Linked DNA regions of Homo sapiens: regions 1, 2, 3 and 5 are each linked to region 4. The links are contacts of gene promoters, found by promoter capture Hi-C in blood cells and fetal thymus (Javierre and others, 2016). All regions are on one chromosome and are shown on one strand. The core of a region is centred on a gene start or on the middle of the fragment in contact, and the rest is flanking DNA. Distances in the headings are between cores, read along the strand shown. Region 1 overlaps TEP1 (telomerase associated protein 1). Region 2 overlaps TEP1 (telomerase associated protein 1). Region 3 holds the start of RNASE2 (ribonuclease A family member 2). Region 4 holds the start of RNASE4 (ribonuclease A family member 4). Region 5 has its middle 16 kb from the start of METTL17.

Region 1 (5,276 bases), core at 933-3,432, 290 kb before region 4:
AAGGACAAAATGAACTTAGACAAGAGATATAGAAAAGGGGTAATAAGAAGAAAGAAAAAAGTCATCATTTTAGGATGTGAGAAAAGGTAACAAAAGAAGAGAAAGTAACAGAAGGAGCCCCGTTTCTTTTAAGACTCCCTCTGGGCAGGGTGTGGTAGCTCACGCCTGTAATCCCAGCACTTTGGGAGCCTTAGGCAGGTGGACTGCCTGGGCTCAAGAGTTTGAGACCAGCCTTGCCAACATCGCAAAACCCCATCTCTATAAATAAAAAACAAAGACTCCTTCTGAAATCAGTTACATCACACAAGTGTCTCTTCCTGGTAAGTCACTGAGCTCAGAAAATTAAAATGAAAGTTCTTATACTCTACTGTAACTTCTCAAAGGATTTACTGAACCCCAAAACTTATCTCCCTCAACCTAGCTGTATTCCCAGATCTACTTACAGCCCACATGGAAACAGCTTGAGGGCCGTACCTGCCTCTGCCCCCTGAAAAAGCCTGGCCTCTAAAGCAGCAGTGGCCTCTCCACGTGCACATCTAGTTGCTGGGCCCCATGGCTACCAGCCCCTCACACATACCGCATGCTGGAGTCTCTGGAGAATGAGCTCATGGTGGCGGGAACTGATTCCAACCCGCAGCAGGTTGCACAGGTTCCGAAGCATGGCCATGAAGGGAAGCTTCCCATTTTCTGTGGAATGTGGGGCATAGAGTGAGAAAAACAAATGAGAAGGCCAGGCACAGTGGCATGCACCTATAATCTCAGCTACCAAGGAGGCTGAGACAGAAGGATCACTTGAGCCCAGAACCCAGGAATTAGAGTCCAGCCTGGGCAACATAGCAAGACTGTCTCAAAAAAAAAAAGCAAATGAGGGATGATTAGAGAGAGGTCAGAGACCAGAGCAAGAAGTTCAGAAACCAGGCATGTGGAAAGTCCAAGATAGAGGAAGTGAGGAATTCACATACAATCTACCCTACTCAAAATGTTTTAAAGGCTTGGAAAGATTAAAAACAGGGTTGGCCCAAAGTTTGGAACAAAATTTATGCAACACTGTTTATGGGATGGCTGTTATGTTACCACTTAATCTGTTGGCTCTAGCCCTAAGATTGGGTTCAACTGGCAAAATGTATTATCTAGTCTAGAGCAAAGGTTTCTAAACTTTTTAGATGGCCAAAAGAGAAATTTCGTAGTGTAAGTTGATTTATGAAGTATATACTAACATAATGTAGCACATTCATTAGTTAATATTTCAAGGCACAATATCCATTTAAAAGAAGGTTCACCATTTATGAAACCCCGTCTCTACAAAAATACAAAAATTAGCCAGGCGTGGTGTCTGGTGCCTCTAATCCCAGCCACTCGAAAGGCTGAGTCAGGAGAATCGCTTGAAACCAAAATGCGAAGGTTGCAGTGAACCGAGATCACGCCACTGCACTGCAGCCTGGGTGACAAAGCAAGACTCTGTCTCCAAAAAAAAAATTAAAAAAAAGTTCACCATTTATAATGACGAATGTATGTAAATCCATATTTGAAATAGTCTTCATAATTTGTAAGCTTCTCACCCAATTTCTTCTATTTGATTAGTCATTACTTTTTTTGCTTAAATATAGGTGAAAAAGATTTGCACTGGAGATAGAATTTCACCACTGACCTCTGTCACTTCCTTATTGTTCCCTTGTACCTGTGTTATTAATATTATCTTCAAGCCATAGTTTCTTTTCTTTTTTTTTTGAGACGGAGTCTCACTCTGTCACCCAGGCTAGAGTGTGGTGGTGCAATCTCAGCTCACTGCAACCTCTGATTCCTGGATTCAAGCAATTCTCCTGCCTCAGCCTCCGAGTAGCTGGGATTACAAGTGCTCACCACCATGCCTGGCTAATTTTTGTATTTTTAGTAGAGACGGGGTTTCACCATGTTGGCCAGGCTGGTCTCAAACTCCCGATCTACAGTGATCTGCCTGCCTCGGCCTCCCAAATTGCTGGGATTACAGGCGTGAGCCACCATGCCCAGCCCATAGTTTCTTAATAATAATATTTTTAAGGTTTATATCAATTTTAGGCCGGGTGCAGTGGCTCACGCCTGTAATCCCAGCACTTTGGAAGGCCGACTCAGGCGGATCATGAGGTCAGGAGATCAAGACCATCCTCGCTAACACGGTGAAACCCCATCTCTACTAAAAATACAAAAATTAGCCGGGCGTGGTGGTGGTCGCCTGTAATCTCAGCTAATCAGGAGGCTGAAGCAGGAGAATCACTTGAACCTGGGAGGCGGAGGTTGAAGTGAGCCGAGGTCGCGCCATTGCACTCCAGCCTGGGCATCAAAGTGAGACTCCGCCCAAAAAAAAAAAAAAAAGGTTTATATCAATTTTAGACAGTTAATTTGGTTAATACTGAATAATATAATTCCAAATCCATCTACAATTGAAAGATAAATTGCTATAAGTCAAATTATATAGAAACCAAAATTAAAAAAAAAAAAGAGTGAAGGGGTGACATTAATGCCCTCAGATTGTGGATGCTCAGAAAACCTCAACTATTACACGTAACACATAACACTGTATCATATGGATTCAGTGACTATGTGGGTTCAATCTGCATGGTAAGTACTGGGAAAATTCTTTTCTTTTAGATAAAAGTAAACATAAATAGGAGGTGTGATTTTCTTTTCCTGGACAGAGGTGCATTCAAACCACTTTAGAGGCCAGGCCGGTCAGTCCGTCACCATGCCTTGTGCACCAGCCCACACCATCAGCAGCTTCATCAGGTAAATGCTGCTCCCTTTGTAAAGGGGATGTAAGTCTTATTTGAATTATAGCTGGAAGCTTTCAGCCCTCTGGAAGTCTTGGGATTCTCCAGTCATCATTCTTTTTTTTTTTATTTTTGAGATGGAGTCTGTCTCTGTCACTCAGTGGCACAATCTTGGCTCGCTGCAACCTCCACTTTCCAGGCTCAAGCAATCCTCCTGCCTCAACCTCCCAAGCAGCTGGGACCACAGACATCAACCACCATGCCCAGCTAATTTTTCTATTTTTGGTTAGAGACGGGGTTTCACCATGTTGCTCAGGCTGGTCTCAAACTCCTGAGCTCAAGTGATTTGCCCGCCCCAGCCTCCCAAAGTGCTGGGATTACAGGCGTGAGCCATGGTGCCTGGCCTCCAGTCATAATTCTGATTCACAAACTGTATGGAACAATTAGGTTGTATATGTACTATAAATGAACTATTGCATCCATTGTCGACTCAAGTTTTTTCCACTGTTACTATGTATAAAAGGTTTTCTAGATCATTTTCGGTAAGAAATTAAGTCCAATATCATACTGGTGATATTAGAAAATAAACTGGACATTTATCCTTAAGATTGCAAAATTCACTAATTTCATTCCAAAAAAATGTTAATGAGTTATTAATGAGATCTGTGGTCTTCAAAAAGGGTTCTGTATATCCAATTACATTTTATCTTATATTTTATACTTATATCTTTTTTTATATTTCCTTTTATTTATTTATATTTATTTTTGGCTGGGCACAGTGGCTTACATCTGTAATCCCAGCAATTGGAGACCAGCCTTGGCAACAAAGTGAGGCCCTGTTTCTTAAAAAAAAAAAAAAAAAAAAAAAAAGTACATATACATATATTCTGGTGTATCCTAAAAATTGTTTTTGTAGTATATGATTAAAAAAAAGAAACACTAGCCACCACGGGATTAGACTATGGGCATTTGCCTCAACCAGGATAAATGACATTAAAAGAATAAATTTACATGTCCTTACATTTTCAGGGACAGTGGTTCTCAACCAGAGGGAGGAAGTGGAGATGGGTGCATATAGAATTATCTTCATATGGCTGGGCGTGGTGGCTCACACCTATAATCCCAGCACTTTGGGAGGCCGAGGCGAGTGGATTACTGGAGGTCAGGAGTTCAAGACCAGCCAATATGGTGAAACGCCGTCTCTACTAAAAATACAAAATTAGCTGGGCATGGTGGCATGCGCCTGTAATCCCAGCTACTCGGGAGACTGAGGCAGGAGGCAGAAGTTGCAGTGAGCCAAGATTGCGCCATTGCATTCCGGCCTGGGCAAAAAGAGCAAAACTCCGTCTCAAAAAAAAAAAAAAAAAAAAAAAAAGAATTATCTACATATACCGGCTTCTATCCAGGCCCCTTTATTCTACTCCACCCCAAGTGGTTTCAACCATCAGGGAAGAAGAGGCTGTCAACTGGGGGCAGGTGTGTGTGTGTATGTGTGTTTGTGTGTGGGTGCGTGTGTGTGTGTGTGCAGTGGCTCATGCCTATAATTCCAGCACTTTGGGAGGCCAAGGTAGGAGAAATGCTTGAGGCCATGAGTTTGAGACCAGCCTGGGCAACATTACAAAGACCTTGTCTCTAAAATTTAAAAAGAAAAGTAATAATTTTATAAAGTAAAAAACGAAAGAAAGAGCCTGCTATAGGTAAAAGTAGACCAAAAAAAAAAAAAAAAAAAAAAAAACAGAGAAAGAGAAAACTGAAGATAACTTGATCCTCCTCTATTTGACTTTTTTTTTTTCTGTATCAATGTGGGCAAATTACCTAAAACTTCCATGTCCTAAATACAATATGAGGTTCTGTACAGATTCCAATATGCCATGTGCCAGTCCTACCTTTTTTGGAATGAGTTACAGAGATATCGATATGAGTACAATGAGAGAGAAGGTACTTTTGTCATATGTTGATAAAAACTTGTACATCACCTAACTACATCTGGTATAATGATCTATGATGCCAACATTACTCAAAGCAGGTACCACTGTTTACTTTGGTGTAGTCAATGGCAGACCTTATAAATCAAATACAACAACCAGGCAAAGTAATAACTTCATCATTCCACAGAAATCTTCTAGTGAGGATCTAAAATGTGGAGGCATAAATGGGGAAGAGAAGGAGGGAATGTGATGGTCAAGGTCACTCTACCAATGAGTTCCTCCCAGACCGACGCTTTGTTCCCCCGTAGGCTCAGCTCCCGCTCCCAGGTCTCTGGCCTAGACAGCTTCATCCTCTTCCCAGCTCTGCTAGAATCCCAAGGCCCAGGAAGGCGACTTCGAGAAAAGAGCTGTAGGTTGGAGGGGTATCTGAGGATAGGTAAGAAAGAGGTCTATCATTTCAGAGTCAGCAAGAAAATAACTCAGAAAAGGAAAGGTGAGTCATGTTTACAGGGCATGTCTGCCCAAATATGCCTAAAAATAACTCAGAAAAGGAAAGGTGAGTCATGTTTACAGGTGAGTCAGAAAAGGAAAGGCAGCAATTGGA
Region 2 (6,125 bases), core at 2,088-4,587, 300 kb before region 4:
CCACTCTGACCACTGCAGACCCCAAGTCTTACCTTTAGGCATCCTCCCAAGCACACGGTGGCTAGCAGCCGGCAGTCTGGGCTCAGGCAGCAGCCAGTGATTTGGTACTGGTGAGCCTTAGTCTGCAGCACCCTATCCCAGGAAGATGAAGTCAGTCCTCTGGACCCTGGCCATCAGCTCCCTCCTCATTTCCTTCTCCTGGGGCTTCCAAAAAATGGGGAAGGCCCTCATTCCAAGACAAATGGGGAGGACCCCTTACCGACAACCATGCTGCAGGTCCCAGAGCTCCAGGAGCCCGTCGAAGGCAGTAAGAAAGAGTGTATCATCGGAGAGGAACAAACAAGCAGAGATTCCATCACAGCCACTCACCACAGACTTCTCCTCCTGCGACAGTGGGTGAGGGAGCGCAGCTCAGGCCATCCCCTTGACCCTCCAAGTCCCACCACTCCAGGCCCCACCCAAAAAGAAGGCCAAGGCACAAAGGCCATGAGTCCTTGGCTCTCTATGTTCCAAGTCAAGCACACGTTCAAGTGGGGGCCTCGTGATCCAAGTGGGGCCACATTTTCTCCCCTACTCCAAACCCCATACCTATTCCCCAAGTTACAGAAAATTTTGATGGGTCTGAGAAAATGGGGTTACATGGGGTAGGGGATGACATGAGTGTAAAGAGGATAGAAAGAGGCTGTGGTTCTAGGACTCACCTCTCCAGCCTAATGTACTATTAGCCTCCCATAAGCACGCTGTGCTGCCATAATTCCCAGCAATTTACAAATTTACCAGGAACATTCCCCTCCTGTGTCTTTGCTCAGGTTCCTTGTTCAAACAAGAGTGCCTGCCCTTCTCTATCCTATGTCCTCCTATAGCTGCACAACTCACTCATGTCTTAATTAGATTACATGGCTATGTTTTGGTTCCTTTTTTACCTCGTATGTCTTATCTCCCAACAAAACTGACCACTTGGTGGGCAATGACAATGTCCCAAATCCTGTGTTTCTTGCAACGCTTAGCACAGTGCCTTAAATGGAAGGTGTGCAGCAAATATTTGCTGTGTGATTGATTTTTTGGCCAAGCCCTTTGAGCTGATGTGCAGGCAGTAAAGTTGCTGAATTAATCAGAGTGATAACAGGTGTGTTTGGCTCATCTAGGGCTTCAGGGCAGTCTGCATGGATTTTCAGAGGGTAAATTCTGCCCCTCCTTGATTGTCATACCTGCCAAGTTCTCAGGTCCAACAGGTAAACTGTCCCATTGGCAGTGCCCACAGCTGCTCTTTGCCCATTGGTGGAGAAGGCCACAGCAGTAGGGGATGAGGAAACTGCCAGAGACAGGCTGGAGCTAGAGAAAGAGTAGGAAGAAAGGGAGGAAATAAACGAGAGAATGCAAACAGGAGTTGATTTATGTGCTTCTGTGCCTGGATCCCTCTCCAGTGTTTCTGGTCATCCTTATTCCTCAGTTTCAGAAAGAGCTGCAGCTTGCTCTCTGGTGGGCTTACTAGGGTCTGGGGTCAAGGTCTTACCTTTGCTGATTTTTCATGGTCCGGGGTTTATTAAGCCATCGTAGTGTGTGTTGGAGGTGCCATCTCCGGGAGAGCAGCGAGGCTTGGTGGCAAAGAGGTGAGTCCAGGGGCTGGTTGGCTGCCTGCTGGGGCAGGAGCCGGGGGTACTGGCTGAGGATTGAAGCCTGCTGCCTCAGGAAGGTGCGAAACACTGCAACGTCAGCCTCGGGGAGCTTTTGTTCCTCTTTGGGGACTGAAGAAGCTATAAAAGGGTGGCAGAATGTCACTGGGGAGCCAGCTGGACCCCATTAGCCCCAGCACCAAATAAAACCATATGGTGTGTCTACAATAGTAAGTCTCAAAGTGTGGCCCTCTGGCCCTATATCAGGAATATCTCTTAAAAGTACAAAGCTTTGAGCCCCACTCCAAACCTAGGAAACCAGAATATGGAGACCCAAGGATCTGCAATTTGAACAAGTTTCCTAGATAGTTTTATGCTAACTAAATAAAGTTGAAGAATCTCTGGTCCAAGAGATCAAGGTGAAAGGTCTCCTGAGAGTCACGTGCTCACCCTCTTGGCATTTTCAACTCGAAATGGAAATTTGAATCTTTTTTCCCTGACACCCACACCCCTGCCCCAACCCTGAGCAGGGCCCCCATAAGCACACCCAGGAGTCCCATATCTCAGAGAAGAACCCAGCCAGTGACTCATCTCACCATAGAGGGCATGGGCCTCCAAGAGCCGAGAGACCAGACCCAATTCCAAGTGTGCAGCCACCACATGGAGGTTGGTAAGGAACTTCGAAAGAAGTCCACGGTTCCCGCTCTGGAGCTGAGAAGGTCAGATTGAATTCATTAGGGATATGAAGGGGCTGGTGAGAAGGGACAGTTTAGTCTCAGAACCTGGATACAGAGATAGGATCTGAGCTGGGACAAAGGACTTGAAGAAGAAGGGCAGGAAAACTGAAAGGAAAGAGGTCAAGGGAGTTTGGGAGGGGTAATGGCGGCGGTGATGGTGGAGATGGTAACGGGGAGAGGGGTCTCAGAGCAACCAAAGCACTCACTTTGGGAAAGGTGTCTATGGGGTCTAGGAACTAACCAGGTGGTAAGGCAGGTCTCCCAGAGCCTCAGGAGGGCAACTTCGGAAGGTGCCTGAGGCATCAGCGTCACATGTCTTCCAGAGCTGAGCTGCATGAACAGATATTGAGAAAGGCTCAGCCCTGCATCATTCCCAAGGGCAGTAGGTGAGCTGGCCAGCAGATGGGAGCACAGTGGGTGGTCCTGGCCTCCAGGCCCAAGCCCCACACTCAGTGCCCAGGCTGACTTGGGCTGCAATCACCTGCAATGAGGATGTGTGCCGTGTCCTCTAGCCCTGGCCTCTTCCCATAGCAACGTTTAGCTGCTGTTCTCAGGGGCCCATCAGGGAGGCACAGCCGGGCACCAGGGCGCTCCAGAGGGCCCTCCCCTAGCAAACTGTCCTCGTGTGAGGAAGGGAGAGAGAAGAAGGAAGAGGCCTGTCAGTGAGCTTCCTGGCACACAGTGGGCTCCTATTCCCCCCTCAAATAGCGGAAACTGGAGCAGCTGGAGCAGTAGCTCATTCATGGTCTGGGAGCCAGTTGTTGAAGCTATACAGAGGGCCCCGGCTCAAAGAAGGGAAGGCACAGAGAGGTCAGCGGGAGCTCTGCTGGGGCACCTGTACCTGCGCAGACTCTGGACGAGGCAGGCAAACGGGCCCATGGGGTAGGGGTCTCCACTGTTACCAGCAGCCACTGCTTCTTCCCAGCTCTTAGTCCCCTTCGGTAGTGTCCGCCACACACTCAGCACTCCGTGCAGCTGGTCCACAGTCAAACCTGAAAACTCAAGCTCTCTGAGGCCCTCATCTAACCATACGGTGTCCCCGCCCCCACCACACCCAGTCTCTCCTTGAACTGCCTGCTGAGACCCCAAGGGAACCAATGTAATCCGAACCCTGGCCCTCAGCCTCCCAACCAACCCACCCCAAGCACTGACCACTCCGTGTGACTTCTAGGGCAGTCAAGGCCTGGGGAAGGACATCAGGCCCGTGCTCCTTCTCCAGTGTGCTCAGGATGTGCTGCAGCAGCAGGGGGACAGTGGCAGGCAGGGTCCGGAGTCTCTCAGACACCTAGGATGGCGGGAGGACAGCCTTGTTCAGTGCAGTGGGAGGAGAAGCAGCTTGGCTTGTGGGATAGGGAAGGGGCAGCAGGAGGACAGTGTGGAGGAATGAAAAAGTAAAGAACAACAGTAGGAGGGAAGTGAGGCGAGGTATGAGGCGAGGATAGGGAGTGGGTGATCACAAGACAGCAAAGGACGTGGGATAGGGATGAGACAAAGCAGCTGAAGAGAGAATGGGAAGTAGTGATTAGGACTTGGAAGGTGATGAGAACTGACCTGCTCATACAGCGTGAAGAGCCTCAGGTGATCGGTGACCAAGCGCAGGTAGAGCGGCCGGCCTGATTCCCGCTTCACCAGCAGCAGTCGCATCTGGCAAGACTCAGGACTCAGGGTGGGGTCCAGGAGGGCTGCCCGCAGCCAGCCCTCTGCCCCAGCACCAGCCCCTCTGCCAGGCAGCTCCTCCTCTGAGAGTCCCCAGCAGACGCCAGGTCCATGGCATCATCCCAGGACACAAACCATCCCTCTCCTACGCTGCTCTGCCCAGCCAGCCCTGCCAGAAAACCCCTGTGGCTCGGCCTACCCCACCAAAAACCACTTGACTCATCCCCTCACCCCGAGAGGCCCTGGAAAGGCCATTCACCGGGGGAAGAGGGCTGGGTGACATGATCAGGAATCACAATTTTCTTATTAACAACTTCCCATGGACAGAATTTCTGAGAAAACAAAGGAGCAGGTCTGTGCAAGGCAGCTAGCGGCCTCGGCACCCCAGGTCCTCATAGCTCCCAGATTCACCCCACACACCCACCGGCCCCGGCCTAGAACCCAACCTGGTTGTTAAATGGTGACTCCTCCAGCCGCTTCCCGTACAGGGCCAGCTCCTCTCTCACCAGCCGGGCCCGAGCAGAGGCCTCCAGAGGCCCCAAGGCCAGCACGTGGGCACCCTGGCTCTGCTCAAGGGTCTCCCCTAGGCCTGCATCACTAGACACACTCAGCACCAGGTGTACACACTGTGATATTTGGGCAAAGGGGCAGGAAGGTAGAAAGAAAAGGAGAACCACATTGGAGAGGCCTCTCTCCTCCGTGCCGTATCCCTCCTTCTCCCCAGCCTGCCTCCCGACACCCACCTCCTTCTCACACTCACCCGGGGAAGCTTCTTTGGGATCCAGTCTGAAATCAGCTGCCCATTCTGGTCCACTAACCTATCAGCCCCATCGATGATCAGGACCTGGGTCTGGCCAGGATGCAGGGACTCAGCAGACTTGGGCAGCAGCCTCTGCTGCAGCTCCCACACCAGGCTTCTGTACATGGAGAGGAAGTCAGGGTCAGTGGGAGAGAAAAAAAAAGCAGGGGTGGTACGTGGGCATCAACAAGGCTGGGCTCATTGGGGGATACCCACCGGTAGGTGCTGGGGAGGGCACCTGGCTCTTTTAGTTGGCCACGCAGATAGGTACAGAGGCGTCTGAGCAGAGTGAGGGCAAGACCCTGGTCAGGACGAGCCCCAGAAAAGTGGAAGAAGACTAATGATGCCACCTTGGCCCCATCAGGAGCCTGCAGGGCTGACACAAGAGATGCCTGCATGGGACAGGAACAGAAAACATGGTCACATTTTACATGCCTGAGCTCCCTGTGCCTTACCTCCTTAGCCCACACAGCCTTCCCTCCCTCCTGCCCAGGCCCCTGAGACTCTGTACCAGGAAGGCTGTCTTGCCCTGTCCTGACTGCCCCGTCACCAGGCTCAGCCTTCCGTGGGGCAGCATCAGCCGTTGCACTGTGTCCTGAAGAAGGCGTGGCCGGGCAGGACTCGGTGGCTTCTGCAGCTGCTGGAAGGTGGCCTGGACCAAGTCATCGTCTGGGATGGACACTGGCTGCTCCAGCAGGGCCCCAGGCTGAGGGTAAATGGGTCAGTGACTATCCATGGTGCCATGCTCCTCAGCACTCCCAGGCTAAAACTCACAGAGCCCCCGCCAAGCTACTTCCTCCCCAGGACAACCCAGACCACCCCATGTCCCTCTCCATGCCTCTGGTCACCAGTGCTTCTGCTGACCTGCAGGTAGAGCTTCTGGATCATATTCCATACATCCTGCAGAACCAACTGCCCAAACTCCTCCAGCCCGCCAACATAGGGCCGGCCAGCTGCCACACCCCCCCACTCACAGGGGTATCTGTGGGCAAATCAAGCACAACCAGGTCAGAGCAGGCCCGGCTCCTCTCACCACATCTCTGTACAGGTGCTCCCTACCTCCCTCAGCTCACCTGCGGCAGGTGATCCCTTTCTGTCTGCTTAGGTAGCTCTTCAGTTCTGAGATCCGACGTGCGGCCTCTTCAGACTCAGAAACAAAGTCAGATTTCCAGGCATCTGGCACAGAGCTGACCACCAAAGACCCCAAAAGTTGGAATAGACTCAGACCCCAGCCAGCCTCCCTCCACCAACCACCAGACATAGCTGTAATTTCCTGAAGCTCCTCAAGTAGAGAGCTCCTGACTCCAGCACCAAGGCTGA
Region 3 (5,353 bases), core at 1,085-3,584, 270 kb after region 4:
GTTAATTTGTGTGTGTGTCTGTGTGTGTGTGTGTTTTGTTTGTTTGTTTGTTTGTTTGTTTTGAGATGGAGTCTCACTCTGTCACCCAGGCTGGAGTGCAGGTGATCTCGGCTCACTGCAACCTCTGCCTCCTGAGTTCAAGCGATTCTCCTGCCTCAGCCACCCGAGTAGCTGGGACTATAGGCCCGTGCCACCACGCCTGGCTAATTTTTTGTATTTTTAGTAGAGACAGGGTTTCAACATGTTAGCCAGGATGGTCTCGATCTCCTGACCTCATGATCCGCCCACCTCAGCCTCCCAAAGTGCTGAGATTACAGGCATGAGCCACCGCGCCCGACCTAATTTTTGTGGTTTTGGTAGAGGCAGGATTTCTCCATGTTGGCCAGGCAGGTCTCAAACTCCTCGCCTGAAGTGACCCCTCTACCTTGGCCTCCGAAAGTGCTGGGATTACAGGCATGAGTCACAGCACCTGGCCCTGTACAACTCTTATAGTAAGAGCCTCAAATAGAAAATGTCAGAGCTGGTATCTGGACAAGACTATACAAAATCTATACCCGACATCGCTGTAACACAAAACTTATATAACAACTTCATTTAAAGAGACACTAACCTATATAATAATTCATTTTGTGTGAGCTCTGAAATCTTAGCAAATGCATCTGTGTGCTCAAAATGCAATGGGGATGAACAGAGGATGTTTAAGGGGTACAAATATAAGAAATGATATAAGAAATAAGGCCTAGTGTTTGATAGATCAGGAGGATGACTATAGTTAATGATAATCTACTGTATGCTTCAAAATAGCTAGAAGAGAATAATTTGAATGTTTCTAACATAAAGAAGAGGCAAATATTTAAGGTACTCGATATCCCAGTTTCCCCGATGTGATCTTTACACATTATGTGAATATATTAAATTATCACATGTACCCTGAAAGTATGTACCTCTATTATGTATCAATAAAAAGAAATAAGGCCAGGCGCCGTGGCTCACGCCTGTAATCCTAGCACTTTGGGAGGCTGAGGTGTGCGAATCACCTGAGGTCAGGAGTTCAAGACCAGCTTGGCCAACGTGGTGAAACCCTATCTCTACAAACATAGAAAAATTAGCTGGACGTGGTGGTGCACGCCTGTAATCCCAGCTACTCGGGAGGCTGAGAAAGGAGAATCATTTGAACCCGGTAGGCAGAGGTTGCAGTGAGCTGAGATCTTGCCACTGCACTACAGCGTGGGTGACAGAGTGAGACTCCATCTGAAAGAGAAAGAAAGAAAGAAGGAAAGAATGAAAGAAAGAAAGAAAGAAAGAAAGAAAGAAAGAAAGGAAGGAAGGAAGGAAGGAAGGAAGGAAGGAAGGAAGAAAGAAAGAAAGAAAGAAAGAAAGAAAGAAAGAAAGAAAGAAAGAAAGAAAAAGAAAAAGAAAGAAAGAAAGATTTTAAAAATATGCAATGGGACACGAATGCAATTTTCCAGTTTCTTAGGAAACACACTTTATTTCATCCCTCCTAAGACACACCTCTCCATAATTCCATCGGGGCTCTATTCCCATTTCTTCCCTTTCCAGAGAAGTAAAGGACTTGTTATAGTTGAGGAAAAAGGAGAAGGCTTACTTCTTTCCTCTTTCATGCCAGAAACTTAATCGAAGGGGTCAGATCTACTTATTCAATGGCTTTCAGAGGAGACATGCAGGAGGCCCCACATAAGAGGGAAGGCCTAGGGCCACCTTTCTGAGGTTTAAGAGACCAGGAAGAGCTCAGTACACCAAATATCTTTAGAAATTAGGTAAGTAAAATATTACTCAATTTGGTGCAATTTAACCTGCACCATATTATTATGACAATCTTGTATTACTTTTAATGGCAAAAATTGCAATTACTTTGGCACCAACCTAATAAATAGTGTGCATTGTCTTTCCCATAGATAGCCACTGCTGCATTAGGGAAATCTGTGTGCAGGAAGGTATCTATGGTTTGGTACCTCCCTGTCAGCAGGTTAAGAGCAAATATTGCAAGGGTACCCTGGGGCTGAAGAAATTGCAAGTGTTAAACATTATATTTTTGCACATAAATGCTATGCAAAAAGTCATTGATCAATGCAGTGTACTCAACAGTGGTTTTTACCATAAATGGAGAAGTCTTTGTCTGGGACAATATTTTACAATGTTCATCGGTTTCCAAAAAATGACTTAATACTGGGGCATAATTCTGACTATTCCTCTGAGTGGAAGTGTGCATTGGGTCTGAAAATGTGTCGTTAAATTAGGCTGCAAGACAAGTTATGCTAATAAAGAACCCGGGAGAAGTGGCTTGTGTCTGTTCAAGACAAAATCATGCTGAAGTCACAGAGAATTTTGTTTACCGTTGGCTTATACTTTATTATTCCTGCTTCATATAAAACAGTCTTCTCCCAAAGCTCGTAAATATCAAAGTAGATCTTTTCTAAAGTTCTGCAGGCAAATGAAAGTAGTTGGAAATGTACACAGGAAATCTACACAAGGGAGAATCAGAAAAATCTTATGAGCATGTTCTCAATACAATTTTAGTGATCAGGAGTGGTGGCTCATGCCTATAATCCCAGCACTTTGGGAAGTCCAGGGGGGCGGATCACTTGAGGTCAGGAGTTTGAGACCAGCCTGGCCAACATGGTGAAACCCTGTCTCTACCAAAAGTACAAAATTTAGCCGGGCATTGTGAAGGGTGCCTGTAATCCCAGCTAATCGAGATGCTGAGGCAGGAGAACTCGGGAGGCAGAGGTTGCAATGACCCAAGATCGCGCCACTGCACTCCAGCCTGGGCAACAACAGCAAGACTCCATCTCAAAAAAAAAAAAAAAACCACAATTTTAAAGGATGAATATGGTTGCAAATTGGGCAGGTTATGTATGGTCTGAGTTATTTCTTAAGACACTGCAACAAGTCTGATGCGTCATAAGCACAGATGTCTCCAGAAGCCAGGCAGGTGTCATTACTGAACAGACAGGATGAAAGTCAGGAGGCAGAGATGGAGTCAGAGAACAGCCCCGAGCTAGAGCCCCTTCCACAGAGGCAGCTTTACCCAGCTCTAATTGATACCACACAGCAACGGAGACACAGTGCACCAACCAACATCATGTGATTTTTAAAGATAAGACAGTAATGAAAACTTTTAGTGAACTATTCCAATGTCAAACTTTACCTTCCAAACCAAACATTATAAATAGCACTGTATATGCTGAAAAGAGGCACTGTTTAGCCAGGTACCTGCCCTGGGGCTGCAGTCTATGTCTTTTGCCTCATACTATAGACACTTGAGTGCAAGTCTTTCTACCCAGTGTGTCTGTCAGCATCACAGAGCGGATACTCTACGTATCATTCACCTTTACATTCTCATCACCTGCAAAAATGATCTCCACACAATATACATGAAAAAAGAATTTGCTTCATGATAAAGCTGCTAATGAATGTCGGCCAGAAGAGGACTTCAAGGCAGAGCAATATTAGCTGCGCATTGAGTCCTCACTGGGTCACCATTGTGTCCACATTTACCTAAGGACCCCAGTGATAAAATTATTGCATTTCTAAATGACAGGAAAATTGGATGGTAGTAAAAATTATGTAGATTAACTGTTGGAAGGTATATTATATCATTTAAGGGTCTAATATCAATTTTCTAATCTGAAAGCTAGACCAGATTTAACATCTCTTAGTACTCAGGTCTTACCACTGCAATTCACTTCCCACCTCTGTACAATTTCCCCACATCATCCCCTGTGCCCAGAATGCTCATCTCTTCCCTAAAGTCCCTGAAAACTCCCTGCTTATCTTTTAGGGCCCTGCTGAAATCAAACTTTTTTTTTTGAAGTCTTCCTTGTCCCTCAAGCCAAGTGATTTCCTTCACCCTCGGCGTCCCCATGAAACCATGTTCACACAAGTGTAATACAATTATGTGTCTACAATTACTTTCCTGTATGTCTCTGAGGGCCAAGAATAAATGTATGCTTTGTGTATCAAACTGTACACTTGACCTCTATACTTTCAGGAATACAGTGCTCTGTCCTTAAATGTTCATTTGTAAATACAGAACCATTTTCTTGTTAATATCACAAAATGAAACTTACCAGGAAGATGAATGACAACCCCAGAACACAGTGTTTTGTAGAAAATACCATAGGCTGAAAAGATCACAGGAATACCGAGTGCTAGGTTGGAATCTTTCATGACACCAAATGTTCATTCATTCTCTGCCAGACTTTACAACTGTCCTCGGTGTGTTTTTAGGTTGTGTAACTTTACACAAAGTGGAAGCAATAATCAGGGCAAGACTTAAGAGAAAGTGGATCCAATGCAAGAGGAGTAAAGAAAAAAATCCCTCAAGTATGTGTAGCAGATTGTTTTAATTATCTACAGAATCTTGTGCCCTAAGAAATTAATAGCTCAAGTTTCCAGCAAGAGTGGTGGATGAGATGGAGAGCATTTGTGTGAGAGAGAACCAAGGATATTACTAAAAATGAAAGGGAAGCTGGGTTTCTCCTGGGCAAACAGCCCTCAGTGGCTCTATTTGTTCTAACTACTATGCCTGCCTTCATGTACTTTGGTCATTTAGTGGCCTGCCAGAGGACAGTTATAAAATCTGTGGTCATTCTGCAGGCAGCATATAGTTTTCATCCAGAGTTTGGATCTAACCAGCAAAACTCTGTCTTACACAGGATGACTTGGAATTAGAGTCCTTATAGCAGAAAGAGCAGCAGGGCTGTCCTTGGGTATCCGTTGCTCAGCCAAGTCATCAAATAAAAAGGATGATTGCACAAGTGGACTATGTACCAATCTGTGGGTTTCTGCATGGCCAAGAGCCAGACCCTCCCTCTGGGCTCTGCTGGCCCAACCCACCAAGGGATGCTTTATTTAAACAGTTCCAAGTAGGGGAGACCAGCTGCCCCTGAACCCCAGAACAACCAGCTGGATCAGTTCTCACAGGAGCTACAGCGCGGAGACTGGGTAAGTCAACGATCCCCAGAGCTGGGACAGAAGGGGCAGCAATGGGGCAGCAACTGAGGGAGAAGAGAGCTGACGTTAGTGCTTAGGAGACGTTGCACACTTTGCAGACAGGAAGTAAAGGAAATGGGACCCCAGAGTGGCCGCAGAGGGGCCTGTGGGGTAAGACACTACAGTGTGTGTCATAACCAAGACCCGATCAGGGAGTAGTTACTTCTCTTCTTTTCTTACAGGAAACATGGTTCCAAAACTGTTCACTTCCCAAATTTGTCTGCTTCTTCTGTTGGGGCTTCTGGCTGTGGAGGGCTCACTCCATGTCAAACCTCCACAGTTTACCTGGGCTCAATGGTTTGAAACCCAGCACATCAATATGACCTCCCAGCAATGC
Region 4 (5,617 bases), core at 599-3,098:
TGCCAAAAATGTTGGGGACCACTGCTCCATTCCACACCCTCTCCCTCCCGTGTCTGTGGACGTGTAAGCGGAAGAGCCGAGATTGGGAGGGAAGCGCAGGAAGTGAGGACATCAGGGAGCCCGGGCCTAAGCCTGGAGGCCCGCCCTCTCCGGCGTTCACAGTTGCGCAGTCAGAATTGTGTGCGTCCCACCGCCTCAGCCCCCAGTTCTCCGACGCCCAGGTGCCGGTCCCCACCCTACACACAAACACACGCATCCACGCTCGCGAGGCCCCTGGGTCCGCGCCCAGTGAGGCCAACAGCCCTCGGGCGCCCAGAGGATGAGCAGCCTCGGTATGCCCGAGTTTCAGGGGCGCCTGCTCTGCTTGGGAGCCCCTCAGTGAGGCAGGGGAATCCAGATTTAGAAAGGTTGTCCTCAGAACCTCGGACGCAGGACTGTCTTACAAGCTGGCTTTGTGACTCTGCAGTAATTACTTTCCGGGTATAAAGAGATTTCTTTCTTTCCCGTCTCTGGTTAAGGATGTCTCGAGTAGGGATTTTTAGGAGAGTTGTTTCCGTGCTTCCTTCGATAGCTCAGCTGGTAGAGCGGAGGACTGTAGTACTTAATGTGTGGTCATCCTTAGGTCGCTGGTTCGATTCCGGCTCGAAGGAGACGCTGCTGTTTTGGGGTTTACGGTTGCTCTTCGTTTGTGCAAAAAATCTCTGTATCTTGACGTGATCAAATCTGTTTCTGTCTCTCACCCTTGTCCGAAGGAAACAGCTTAGCCGCGAGGTGGGCTGCGTTAATCGCGTCTTGAAAAGTTGGTTACCTTTCTGAAAGATAGTAGACCCGAATCGTCCCACCGTTGGGGGAAGGCACTGTTGTCTTACCGAAGTGTGTTATATTTTGGCTTCTACGTTAAGTCCAAAGGCCGGCAGATATATACGTATCGCGCGTCTGTCCTGGGGCTCAGTACCCTACAGCCTTGCAACCGAGCTCAGCTCTGGCCCTCGATCTCTATTTCAGCCCCCTCCAGGTTCCCTCCAGGCCCTAGCGGGCTTAAATCGCTCCCCGGGCTCAGTGAGACACAAGCATGTGACCTAAAGTCTAAAAAGCTGCCTTCCTTCACCCCATCCTGCATCTGGATCGAGGAGAATAAGCCAGAGAATAAGCCACACTTGAAACTTGGTGAAGATGGAAGGAATAACTAAATAAGGCCTAAGGGAAATGTCACAACAGAGGAAAAGAAACAAAACAAAAAACCTTCAGAACAGCAGGCGGAAAAGAGAAATTCAGAGTGATAGGAAGCACCACTCAGCTACAGTGGCTCGTTGGTCTAGGGGTATGATTCTCGCTTTGGGTGCGAGAGGTCCCGGGTTCAAATCCCGGACGAGCCCTCGTGGCTACTGTTTTTCCACCCCCTTTTGTCAACTACTGAAAAAAAGTCTCCGTTAAATTTGAAACACAAACTGTCTCGCGATGGGCTGTCCTGCCAAAGAAAGCAGCAGCGAATAAGTACGTGGCAGATGGTGCTGTCGACCAGTGTCAAGACCAAGTTTCATGGGTTCCTGGACGCTCAGCCAGGGGTAGTCTCTGAAGGGCCGCCTGGCAATTGGGAGCAGAAGCCAGTTTCCCGCCATCTGCTCTCCGTGGAGGCAGTGCTCTCGCGGCTGCTGCCCGTTGGGGTCCAGCTGAGGAAGGAGCGCGGATCCCAGGCTCGTTCTTTGCCTGGGCTGCCCCTGCGGCCCCTGGGGCGGGTGCTGCTGCGGCGCCAGCTCCAAGGGCGGATCCAGGCGGGAGGGGCCTCCTCGGAGAAGCGGGGCGCGGTCCCAACTACGCAGAGGCTGGCACGCCGACCCTCCACACCTCACCACGCCCCCATCTCCGTCCGTGTACACACACTCACACAAGGACGCCAACCCCACCTAGATGCAAAGCAGGATTCAAAAGAACATCTTTGCGTTTTCTACCGGCTCCCCATCATCGTACTAGGGAGGAAGAAGCGGGTGAGAAACAAAACTTCTTTCCATTGTCCTGCCCGTTTCTGCGGACTTGTTCTGAGGCCGAGGTAGGTTCACACTCCTGCTCCTCCTCCTCCTCTCTGGTAGCTTCATAAGGGGCGTTTAGGCCGGGGAGTCCTTTCCTAGTAGAGGCAGCTTGGGACTCCTTGGGGAGGAGTTTGCGGGACGGGGCTGGAGAGGGAGGAATGGGGAGGGACGTGAAAGTCCCGTATTTGTATGAGTTAACGACTTTACATTCCCACTCAGGTTTACTTTGCGCAGCTGGGCACAGATGCCAGCTTCTATTGATTAGTAGGCTTGGAGGGGGACCACAGAATCGCCGAACCTAAGGGAAGCCCTAGGAGGCCTGCACTTGCCCACAACTAAGAAAGCTTTGCTAGTTATTCAGGCTAATCACCAGCTTTTTGAAGCAGGCCTTAGTTTTTTGCAAGCGTAACTAACATTTGGGGATCGGTGTTTTCTGTTTACTCTCCTCTGCCTCCTCACCCTTAACCCACCCTCAGCCAGTGTTGTGCAATTCTTAGAGACACTTGCCAACAGCCTCTTCTCTAAGCCTTCCTACTGGAAGGTTGGGATCCTCCGTTTTCTCGCTCTGAGACAGCACGTCAAATGCTAATAGCAGCACATGAGTAAAGCGCAACATCTTTATTAAAACAATTTCAGCACCACTCAGGGGGCTAGGGAAATCTCAGATGAGCCAAGACCCTCCCTCGTGACAGTAAAAATCTTATAATCAAGTCATAATGTAATCAGTAGAAACCCAAGGGACATCATTATCTGTGGCACAGGACCACCTTCCCAGAAGCAGCCTCAGGTATTCAAGACTTACTTAACCACAGAGCCACTAACAAGTTTTGCAAGAGGATAGGTTTATTACATACGCTTCAATTCAAGCAATTCTTTTACTGATGACAAGCAGAGTAAAATAATTTTTGAATTTATGGTAATAGTCAATGTAGGTTTCCTTCGAACAGCAACTTTCAGTGGCCCCTTTAAAGTTAGCTCTGATTGTCTAGAAAGTACTAGTATGGAATATAAAAGTTGTGTGGGCCCGGCACGGTGGCTCATGCCTGTAATCCCAGCACTTTGGGAGGCCGAGGTGGGTGCATCACAAGATCAGGAGTTCGAGACCAGCCTGGCCAAGATGGTGAAACCTCGTCTCTACTAAAAATACAAAAATTAGCCGGGCACGGTGGTGAGCACCTGTAACCCCAGCTACTCGGGAGGCTGAGACAGGAGACTCTCTTGAACCTGGGAGGCGGAGGTTACAGTGAACAGAGATTGCGTCACTGCACTCTAGCCTGGGTGACAGAGCAAGACTCCGTCTTAAAAAAAAAAAAAAAAAAAATTGTGTGGTGCATTGGAAAGCTTCCAGGCCGGCGAATGCAATGAGTTCCTTGGGCAATACATGTCTCTTTCTCTGTTCCTCAGTTGGCTCTTCTTTAATATGAGGGGTGGACAGAGTCTCAGAGGCCCCTCCCACTCTTGTTCTATGACTCCATGGAGTGGTACGATGTTAGTAACAGGACATGAGGCACTCTAGTAATGTGGAGATGAACTATCGTTTGGCAGAGAGGATGGAAAAAATCATTCCAGGAAAAGAGGAATGGCTTTAGCTATTGTTGAAAACAGATAATCAGGTTATAAGCAGGCAAGAGTAAGAGGTTTGTCAAGTTATTGTTGGAAGCATTGGTCACTGTGACTCAAATTAAAGTAGCTGGATAAAAAAGTGGACCAATGAAGGTCAGTGAAACCTTTCTTTAGGAGTTTTTATTGAATCTGTATTTAAGCAGATTCTCTGTAATTCTCTGTAAACAGTTATTCCCGGAAGAATGCCATGAAATACTTGGGAAAGAGGGAATGGGAACAAAGAGTGAGTGGGCACAAAGCCCAGAGTTGGTTGAAAAGCAAATGTTTAATTTTTGTCTTTGTTTGGAAATACAGGCATGTCAGCAGGACTTTGTCCCCACTGTCCTTCAATCAGTAGTGTTGCCTCTTCCTGGAGACGTGGTTCTTCTTGCCACGTGTGCTTTTCCTTCTTTACCTGTTACTTCCGTTATTGAATAAGTTCATGCTTATAGACCTAAAGTGTTAGAATAATAAAGAAATATAGAAATTATTTAGTCCATTCTTCCCATCATCTAATTTTATAATTAGTCCTAAGACAGAATGATACATATATACTCTGTATGAAGGAGGAAAGTGCTCTAACACTAGGGTCCTTGGAAACAGGACCCGTGCATCCCGTGTCTGTGTGCAGGGACATTATTGGCTTGAGGGAGAGAGAGAAAAAAATCTCCAGGAAAGGGGAATGACTTTCAAGTTAAAGCTGTCTGAACATTTAAAAAATATATGAGGTTTTTTGCAATTGGCGATTCCTTCATTTGTATTAAAATTACTGACAAAGATGTGATGTTCCTTAATCATAGAATATAATTCCTTGTTGTATTTTAAACACAAATGACTAAGTGCTTAGATGCATTCTAATGAAATAGTAATTTTTCCCCCAAACCCTACTTTTCATTTCAACAAAACTTCCTTGTGCCAAGTTTAAAAGAAAAACATAAAACTGTCTTTTTGCATTGTGGGCAGATTGTGTATCCTCCAAAGGTTGTCCAGTGAAGGCCCAGAGGCAGAGAAGGGACCTAACTATATTCAGAGGCTGCTGGTTGCCCCACCTCAGCACTACTGCAGAACTCTAAAATCAGAGGCTGCTCTGTTTGTGTGAGTCGGTGCTTGAATTGGTGCTTCAGGCCATGGGGCTGTGTGTGTGCAGGCGCATATGGGTTGTATGCTGTGGCAGGGTACCGCTTTTCGGGACTCAGAGGTGGTGTTGCTTGAGCTAAGCCTGGAAAGACAGGTCAGTTTTCTCCTTGCTTATGAAGGGTTCAAAGTCTGACTCCACCATTCATCTGCTGTTTGTTCTTGGAGTTTCCTCATGAGCAGAGCATATTTACATAATGCCTACCTCACACAGTCCTGGTGTTGGTTGAATGTAGTCATGTATGTGAGAGCTTCACAAAATGAAAGATTGCACTGAATATTATAATTATTGTGATTTCAAGTGCATTTGTTTTACTAGCAGGCAGCCTGTCTTTTCTTGACACCTTCTCAAGTGCAGCCAGACTGAATACTTGGCAGCTAGGTGGGTGACAACAGAGGATTGAGGATTTTTAAAAAGATAACACTGTCCTAGATCCAACACCACTGTGGGCAAATGCTGGGGGTCTGTGAAACAGTTGGTACCCTGCTGCTGTCTGATATTGGAAACTATGAGATCTATAAGGTGATCCTGGTGACCTTTGGCCCACTGTTTTTACGCAAGCAATGGATCTACAGCCCTGCTTTGATGATGGAGATAAGCAATTTTGCAACTACATTACAAGGATCAGAAGATTGAATGTTCAGGGTTAGTCTCTTGTGGACAGGTAAAGATGGAAGAAGGAGAAACCCAGGAAACATGGCAAGCCTGCTTCTGGGGGTTAGAAGCTGAGAAGTTGAGTGTAGGGGGAGGGGCAGTGTACTAATAGCTGTCACACAACCTTCTCTGGAAGTGCTTTCCTGGCTGTATGAAATCGATGGAATAACGTGCTTAGCATCCGTTCATGAAACCAAAT
Region 5 (5,534 bases), core at 1,780-4,279, 290 kb after region 4:
TGCTGTGGGCAAATCGGACCCATGAGCCCAGAGAGCATCATCCCGGGAAAGCTTTCCCGAAGCACAGGCTTCCCTGCACCACCATACACGCGCACACCCGCACGCGCTCACTCCCCCAGCCCTCCTCCCCTCCCTCACTCCCGCCCTGGAAGAAGCGGGGAGCTGAGGGGAGAGGTGGAACCAGCAGAGAAACGGGCCGGGCAGGAGCCCGCACCAGCCCGGCTTGGGACACCGCAGCCGCTCCTGCCCTCTGCTGGCTGGAAGGCGCACTTACACATTGCGGTCATCGCGGATCGCCGAGGGCCGCTGGTGCCGCTCTGCCGCCAAGGACGCTCAGCCATTGGAGTAGAAGTGAGAGAGGCCGCGGGCTGAGTAGAGAGGGGTGAGGATTCCGGAAAGGAAGCATCGTCAGGAAGCGCTGAAGTTCCTACTGATAAAGAGGGGGTTGGGCCACCAGCAACTTGTCACATGAGGAGTGGGGGTTTTCTGCATACCTTAGTGAACCTATCAGTCTAGGACTCGTGGATGGAGACTCGGCCACACCAGCAGCTGGTAAAGGCTGTCCTGGGGCCCAAATCCGTCAGTGACTCTGACATCTCAGGGACAGTGTGTGGTGGCTATAGTGCTTTGCGAAGTTGCTGCCGGGAGTTAGGCAGAAACCTCTTAGGCTGTTCAGATCCCTCTTAACTAAGGGGTTTTAGTGCTGTGAGTATTCCCACAAATGGGTCCCTGTAGTACAATTATTTTGCAGCATTCATACGGCCTACTGGGGCTCTTGATTTGAGGAGCCTTATTCAGCAAACATTTCTTGAGTACCTATGTGCCAGGTACGGTTAGAGGTATGGGAGTCATCAGAGAACGCAGGACATACGTACAAAAAAAATCTCTGCTTTCACGGAGGTCACATTCTAGTGACCTAGACACATAATGTATACTCACAGACAATAAACATATATGTAAATTACACAGACTGTTAAGGTGATAAGCTCTATGGAAAAAATAAAGCAGGAAGGAGAATGGGGGAAGCAATGGGTAGCTTTTTTTTTTCTCTCTTTGAGACAGTCTGGCTCTGTCACCCAGGCTGGAGTGCAGTGCAATCTCGGCTCACTGCAACCTCCACCTCCCGGGTTCAAGCGATTGTTGTGCCTCAGCTTCCCAAGTAGCTGGTGTTACAGGCGTGTGCCACCACACCCAGCTAATGTGGGACATGTTAAGTCTGAAGGGTCTATTAGACCTCCAAGTGAAGATGTCAAATAGACAGTCCGATGTACTAGTCCAAAGCAAGAGAGCTGGGCTGGAAGTATGTATTTGGGAGTTGTTAGAGAATCAACAGCATTTAAAACCTTGAGACTGGATAAGATCACCAAGGGATAGTGTGCAGATAGAGAAGAAGACCTATGACTGACTCCTGGGGACCTCTAACATCAAGTTACCAGAGGCAAGAGGAAAAACGTGTGAGGAGCCTAAGAATGAAAGGCCTGGATGGTAAGGAAAGAGCCAGGAGACAGGGGCATCCCAGAGACCATCACGCAGCCTCGACATGACTGCCTGCATTGAGGAACCAGGACTGATCTCACAACGCTTTTCGTCCCTATTCCTGTCACAAGAAGCCCCATTCTCAGGTCATCCTCATCAAAAAGGAGGGAATTATCCACTGTGCCTAATACTGCTGAGTGGAATATTAATCTGTTGGGGTGGGAGGTGTTACTTCCAATGCAAGGAGTGCCCCCACAACCCTCATAACTCCTACTGATGGAGCTGAGGAGTCCATTGAGAAGATTTTTTTTTTTCCGAGATGGAGTCTCGATTTGTCGCCCAGGTTGGAGTGCAATGGCGCAATCTCAGCTCACTGCAACCTCTGCCTCTCAGGTTCAAGTGATTCTCCTGCCTCAGCCTCCCCAGTATCTGGGATTACAGGTGTGTGCCACCATGCCTGGCTAATTTTTGTACTTTTAGTAGAGACGGGGTTTCACCGTGTTGGCCAGGCTGATCTCCAACTGCTGACCTCAAGTGATCCACCCGCCTCGGCCTCCCAAAGTGCTGGGATTATAGGCATGAACCAACATGCCCAGCCTGAGAAGGTTTTCTAAGTGCTGGGCCTTAGAAGAAGAGAATCTTGTCCAGGAGATGATTAGAAAGAGGGTCCACATATGAGCTGTGTTATTTGTTCTAGAGGAGGGAGTGAAGCGATGGAGAGGAGAGCATCTACATCCTTCAGATGAAAGGAAGCTCCCTTCCCCTGATCCCAGACCCCAGATCCTCAGGATTTCACATTCTCCCCATCTCTCCTCACTCCTCCAAGTACTCACCTGAGGAACTCACTCTGTCACATCCTTCTTCCTCTGACGCACCCAACACCATTGCCTCCCCGCTCTACCCTGAGTCTGCACATTCTCCTGAAGAGCTCCACAGCTTACACACAGACACACCTCATTTTTTTAACTGCCACATAGTACTAAGGGAATCCCAATAGTAAGGAATTATATGTTTAATTCCCAGTTCTAGCACTAATTTTCTATGAGGACTACCATTCTGGTCCTCAGCTATGAAATGTAGCTTGGAATAAAGGACCTCACAAATTCCTTCTAGCTCGGACTCTTGTAGTTCTTTGAAGCCCTCATAAGGAGTGTGTGTGTGTGTGTGTGTGTGTGTGTGTGTGTGTGTGTGTGTGTAGAGGAATGTCTACGGAAAATGCAATCTACATTTCTGAAATTTTTTACTATGTAGATCTGTTTTTCTTAAAATACTATACCTAAATCCAGAAAAAAATCACCTGATTAACTAAAATAAAATTATTGTCCTATATATACATGTATGTATGTATGTTATTATTGCTGTTGTTGCTACCTTAAGACTATCAAGAAAAACATTTAACTATTACATTGCAGTCAACACAGAAATCCCTATTTCTTTTCCCTTCTTCAATAGAGCAAGAGAAAATGTTAGCACAGAAGACAGTAAGATGATCTTACACCTCTGAGATTATTTAGGTTTGAGGTTAGTACACTGGGGGATATCAATCAGCAAACAGTAATGTAGTCATTCCCATCCTTAGCTGTCTCTATCAGCTTCACCTACCTCATCTAATAGGAAAACAGGAGACCTAAAAGTCATTAAACCTAAGAGGAAACTTTGATGAGTGCTTTACTGCCTAAAATATCTCAGCATCATTCAAAATGTTTATCCCTCATGGTTTTGCAAGGAGTGTTGGAAATAAGGAAGCCACTCCCTCTTTGGCACACCTATTTCACATAAGGTAATTGGGATTAAGCCTCACAACATGGTCCAGTAGGTAACACTCTACATACTTTTCTAGAGCTGATACAGGCTTTCGTCTGTGTCCACGATCTAAGGTCACCCACCATCAGGCTTATGTTTGCGTATCATGCAGGGTTTTAATGTTTCCCTTGTAGAAAAGAGAAAACGCCAGGCGTGGTGGCTCACGCCTGTAATCCCAGTACTTTGGGAGAACGAGGCGGGTGGATCACCTGAGGTCAGGAGTTTGAGACCAGCCTGGCCAACCTGGTGAAACCCCGTCTCTACTAAAAATACAAAAATTAGCTGGGTGTGTGGTGGTGGGTGCCTGTAATCCCAGCTACTCGGGAGGCTGAGGCAGGAGAATCATTTGAACCCAGGAGGCAGAGGTTGCAGTGAGCAGAGATCGCCCCATTGCACTCCAGCCTGGGTGACAGAGCGAGACTCCATCTCAAAAAAAAAAGAAAGAAAAGAAAAAAAAAAGAAAAGAGAAAACAAGGGCTGAGTCTGAGATCACAAGGTTGGTGAATAGCAGAGCTGTGAGTCAGACTCTGATATGTTTTTTTTTTTTTTTTTTTTGAAACGAGGTCGTGCTCTGTCACCCAGGCTGGAGTGCAGTAGTGGGATCATAGCTCACTGCAGCCTCAACCTCCCGGGCTCAAACAATTCTTCATTTAACCACAGATTTGATGTACTGATTATTCATTTACATTAAAATAAATATATAACAACGAACACTTTAAATGTGTATCTGCATACCCTAACATCGGCTATCTCACTTACCATCAGCTGTACATGCTTCATTTTTTCACATACAGCTTTATCTTGAACTTTAACTTAAAAAATTCCACCTGGAAAATGCTTTCACAGTAAAAGACCCAAGGACAGTATAAAAAAATGAATCCCAAGGCCAAAGATTTGGTCATATTTATCCAATTCTGTTCAAAAGAGAGGCTGAACAGGCAGGCTCTATATACTCATCATTGTGAAAATGACAAAATTGTTTACTAGGACAGTTCCTCATATTTTTCATGGAGTTAACAAAAAAAGTAATTCTTGTTTTTTCTTTTTGCTCTGATTCCTTGAATAAAGTAGTATATTAAAATGTGATTTTCAGCAGGGCATGGTGGCTCGTGCCTGTAATCCTAGCACCCTGGGAGGCTGAGGCAGGAGGATCACCTGAGGTCAGGAGTTTGAGACCACCCTGGCCAACATAGTAAAACCCCGTCTTTACTAAAAATACAAAAACTAGCCAGGTATGGTGGCGGGCGCCTGTAGTCCCAGCTACCTGGGAGCCTGAGGCATGAAGATCACTTGAACCTGGTAGGCGGAGGTTGCAGTGAGCCAAGATCATGCCACTGCACTCCAGCCTGGGTGACAGAGCGAGACTCTTTCTCAAAAAAAAACAAAAACAAAACAGGAGGTGATTCTCTGAGAGTCTCTCTGAGCCCACTCTGGTTCAGGAGGCTGCCCAGTTCAAAAACAAACAAAAAAAGGTGGTTTTCTGTGTCTCAGATTTAGTAAGTGTTCCCAATAAACAGGGCCCAATGGCCGGGCGCGGTGGCTCACACCTGTAATCCCACCACTTTGGGAGGCCGAGACAGGTGGATCACGGGTTCAAGAGATCAAGACCATCTTGGCCAACAGGGTGAAACCCCATCTCTACTAAAAATACAAAAATTAACTGGGCATGGTGGTGTGCGCCTTTAATCCCAGCTACTCAGGAGGCTGAGGCAGGAGAACCACTTGATCCTGGGAGGTGGAGGTTGCAGTAAGCCGAGATGGCACCACTGCACTCCAGCCTGGCAACAGAATAAGACTCCATCTCTAAATAAATAAATAAATAAATAAATAAATGCCAATGACTAACCTATCTCAAGTCAACCAAAGCAGGACTTGGTAAAAAGGAAGGAGATGAAATCTGTTTTGTGACCTTTGCTTGCTAGCCACCCCCAGTCTATAAAAGATCTTACAAAGGCCTAGACAGAGGTATGATTTTCCTCTGTCATACCTGATTACATGATAGTTACATTCCCAGCAAACTCTTTGCATTTTAAAACCATGCAAAATAAAAGGAGTTAGGGTAGAAGCTCAGATAATTCTAAGCTGTTTTCTTACCTACATCAGCAGCCAAGAAAACAGTGATAAATTGTGTAGGCCATGTACTAATTCTTTATTTTACTTTGCTATACTCTGAGCACACTTGTTCCCTATCCATTAAATACTAGCACTGATCTCCTCTCCACTTATTATAGTTACCAAAAATATCTCTAGAAATT

The links. Contacts are between HindIII fragments. The CHiCAGO score rates a contact against its expected background, and 5 or more counts as called.
Region 1: a contact is called between a fragment that was not itself captured here and the fragment with the promoter of RNASE4 in region 4, in 15 of 17 cell types (M0 macrophages, naive B cells, megakaryocytes and 12 more). The highest score is 14.5, in M0 macrophages.
Region 2: a contact is called between a fragment that was not itself captured here and the fragment with the promoter of RNASE4 in region 4, in 15 of 17 cell types (naive CD8 T cells, M0 macrophages, total CD8 T cells and 12 more). The highest score is 9.7, in naive CD8 T cells.
Region 3: a contact is called between a fragment that was not itself captured here and the fragment with the promoter of RNASE4 in region 4, in 5 of 17 cell types (monocytes, fetal thymus, M2 macrophages and 2 more). The highest score is 8.7, in monocytes.
Region 5: a fragment that was not itself captured here is called in contact with the fragment with the promoter of RNASE4 in region 4 in 17 of 17 cell types (fetal thymus, erythroblasts, naive B cells and 14 more); the score reaches 17.4 in fetal thymus.

What each region holds. Positions count from the first base shown.
Region 1 is chr14:20,396,044-20,401,319 of GRCh38, forward strand. TEP1 (telomerase associated protein 1) reads right to left here. Exons shown (of 55, transcript NM_007110.5): 9 at 4,941-5,098; 10 at 578-687. Among named protein-coding and RNA genes, the nearest start is that of TEP1, 15 kb to the right of the region's middle. RefSeq lists an enhancer at 4,586-5,276. The HindIII fragment of the contact is 1,267 bases long and covers 1,550-2,816 here.
Region 2 is chr14:20,378,722-20,384,846 of GRCh38, forward strand. It overlaps TEP1 (telomerase associated protein 1), which reads right to left. Exons shown (of 55, transcript NM_007110.5): 22 at 5,879-5,992; 23 at 5,670-5,787; 24 at 5,317-5,511; 25 at 5,022-5,197; 26 at 4,767-4,923; 27 at 4,453-4,632; 28 at 3,902-3,994; 29 at 3,503-3,635; 30 at 3,192-3,342; 31 at 2,832-2,965; 32 at 2,592-2,680; 33 at 2,210-2,324; 34 at 1,514-1,754; 35 at 1,209-1,332; 2 more. Among named protein-coding and RNA genes, the nearest start is that of TEP1, 32 kb to the right of the region's middle. RefSeq lists a silencer at 815-1,015. The HindIII fragment of the contact is 2,872 bases long and covers 1,902-4,773 here.
Region 3 is chr14:20,950,569-20,955,921 of GRCh38, forward strand. It overlaps RNASE2 (ribonuclease A family member 2), which reads left to right and starts at 4,919. Exons shown (of 2, transcript NM_002934.3): 1 at 4,919-4,968; 2 at 5,199-5,353. The coding sequence starts at 5,204. The HindIII fragment of the contact is 7,527 bases long and covers 1-5,353 here.
Region 4 is chr14:20,682,712-20,688,328 of GRCh38, forward strand. RNASE4 (ribonuclease A family member 4) reads left to right here and starts at 1,849. Exons shown (of 2, transcript NM_002937.5): 1 at 1,849-2,047. It overlaps TRY-GTA5-5 (tRNA-Tyr (anticodon GTA) 5-5), which reads left to right and starts at 562; the gene lies at 562-650. TRP-TGG3-2 (tRNA-Pro (anticodon TGG) 3-2) reads left to right here and starts at 1,305; the gene lies at 1,305-1,376. It also overlaps a transcript of ANG not described here. RefSeq lists enhancers at 231-540, 741-930, 1,071-1,200, 2,001-2,140 and silencers at 1,331-1,380, 1,651-1,770. The HindIII fragment of the contact is 4,966 bases long and covers 1-2,369 here.
Region 5 is chr14:20,971,332-20,976,865 of GRCh38, forward strand. No RefSeq gene overlaps it. Among named protein-coding and RNA genes, the nearest start is that of METTL17, 16 kb to the right of the region's middle. RefSeq lists an enhancer at 1-470. The HindIII fragment of the contact is 5,961 bases long and covers 50-5,534 here.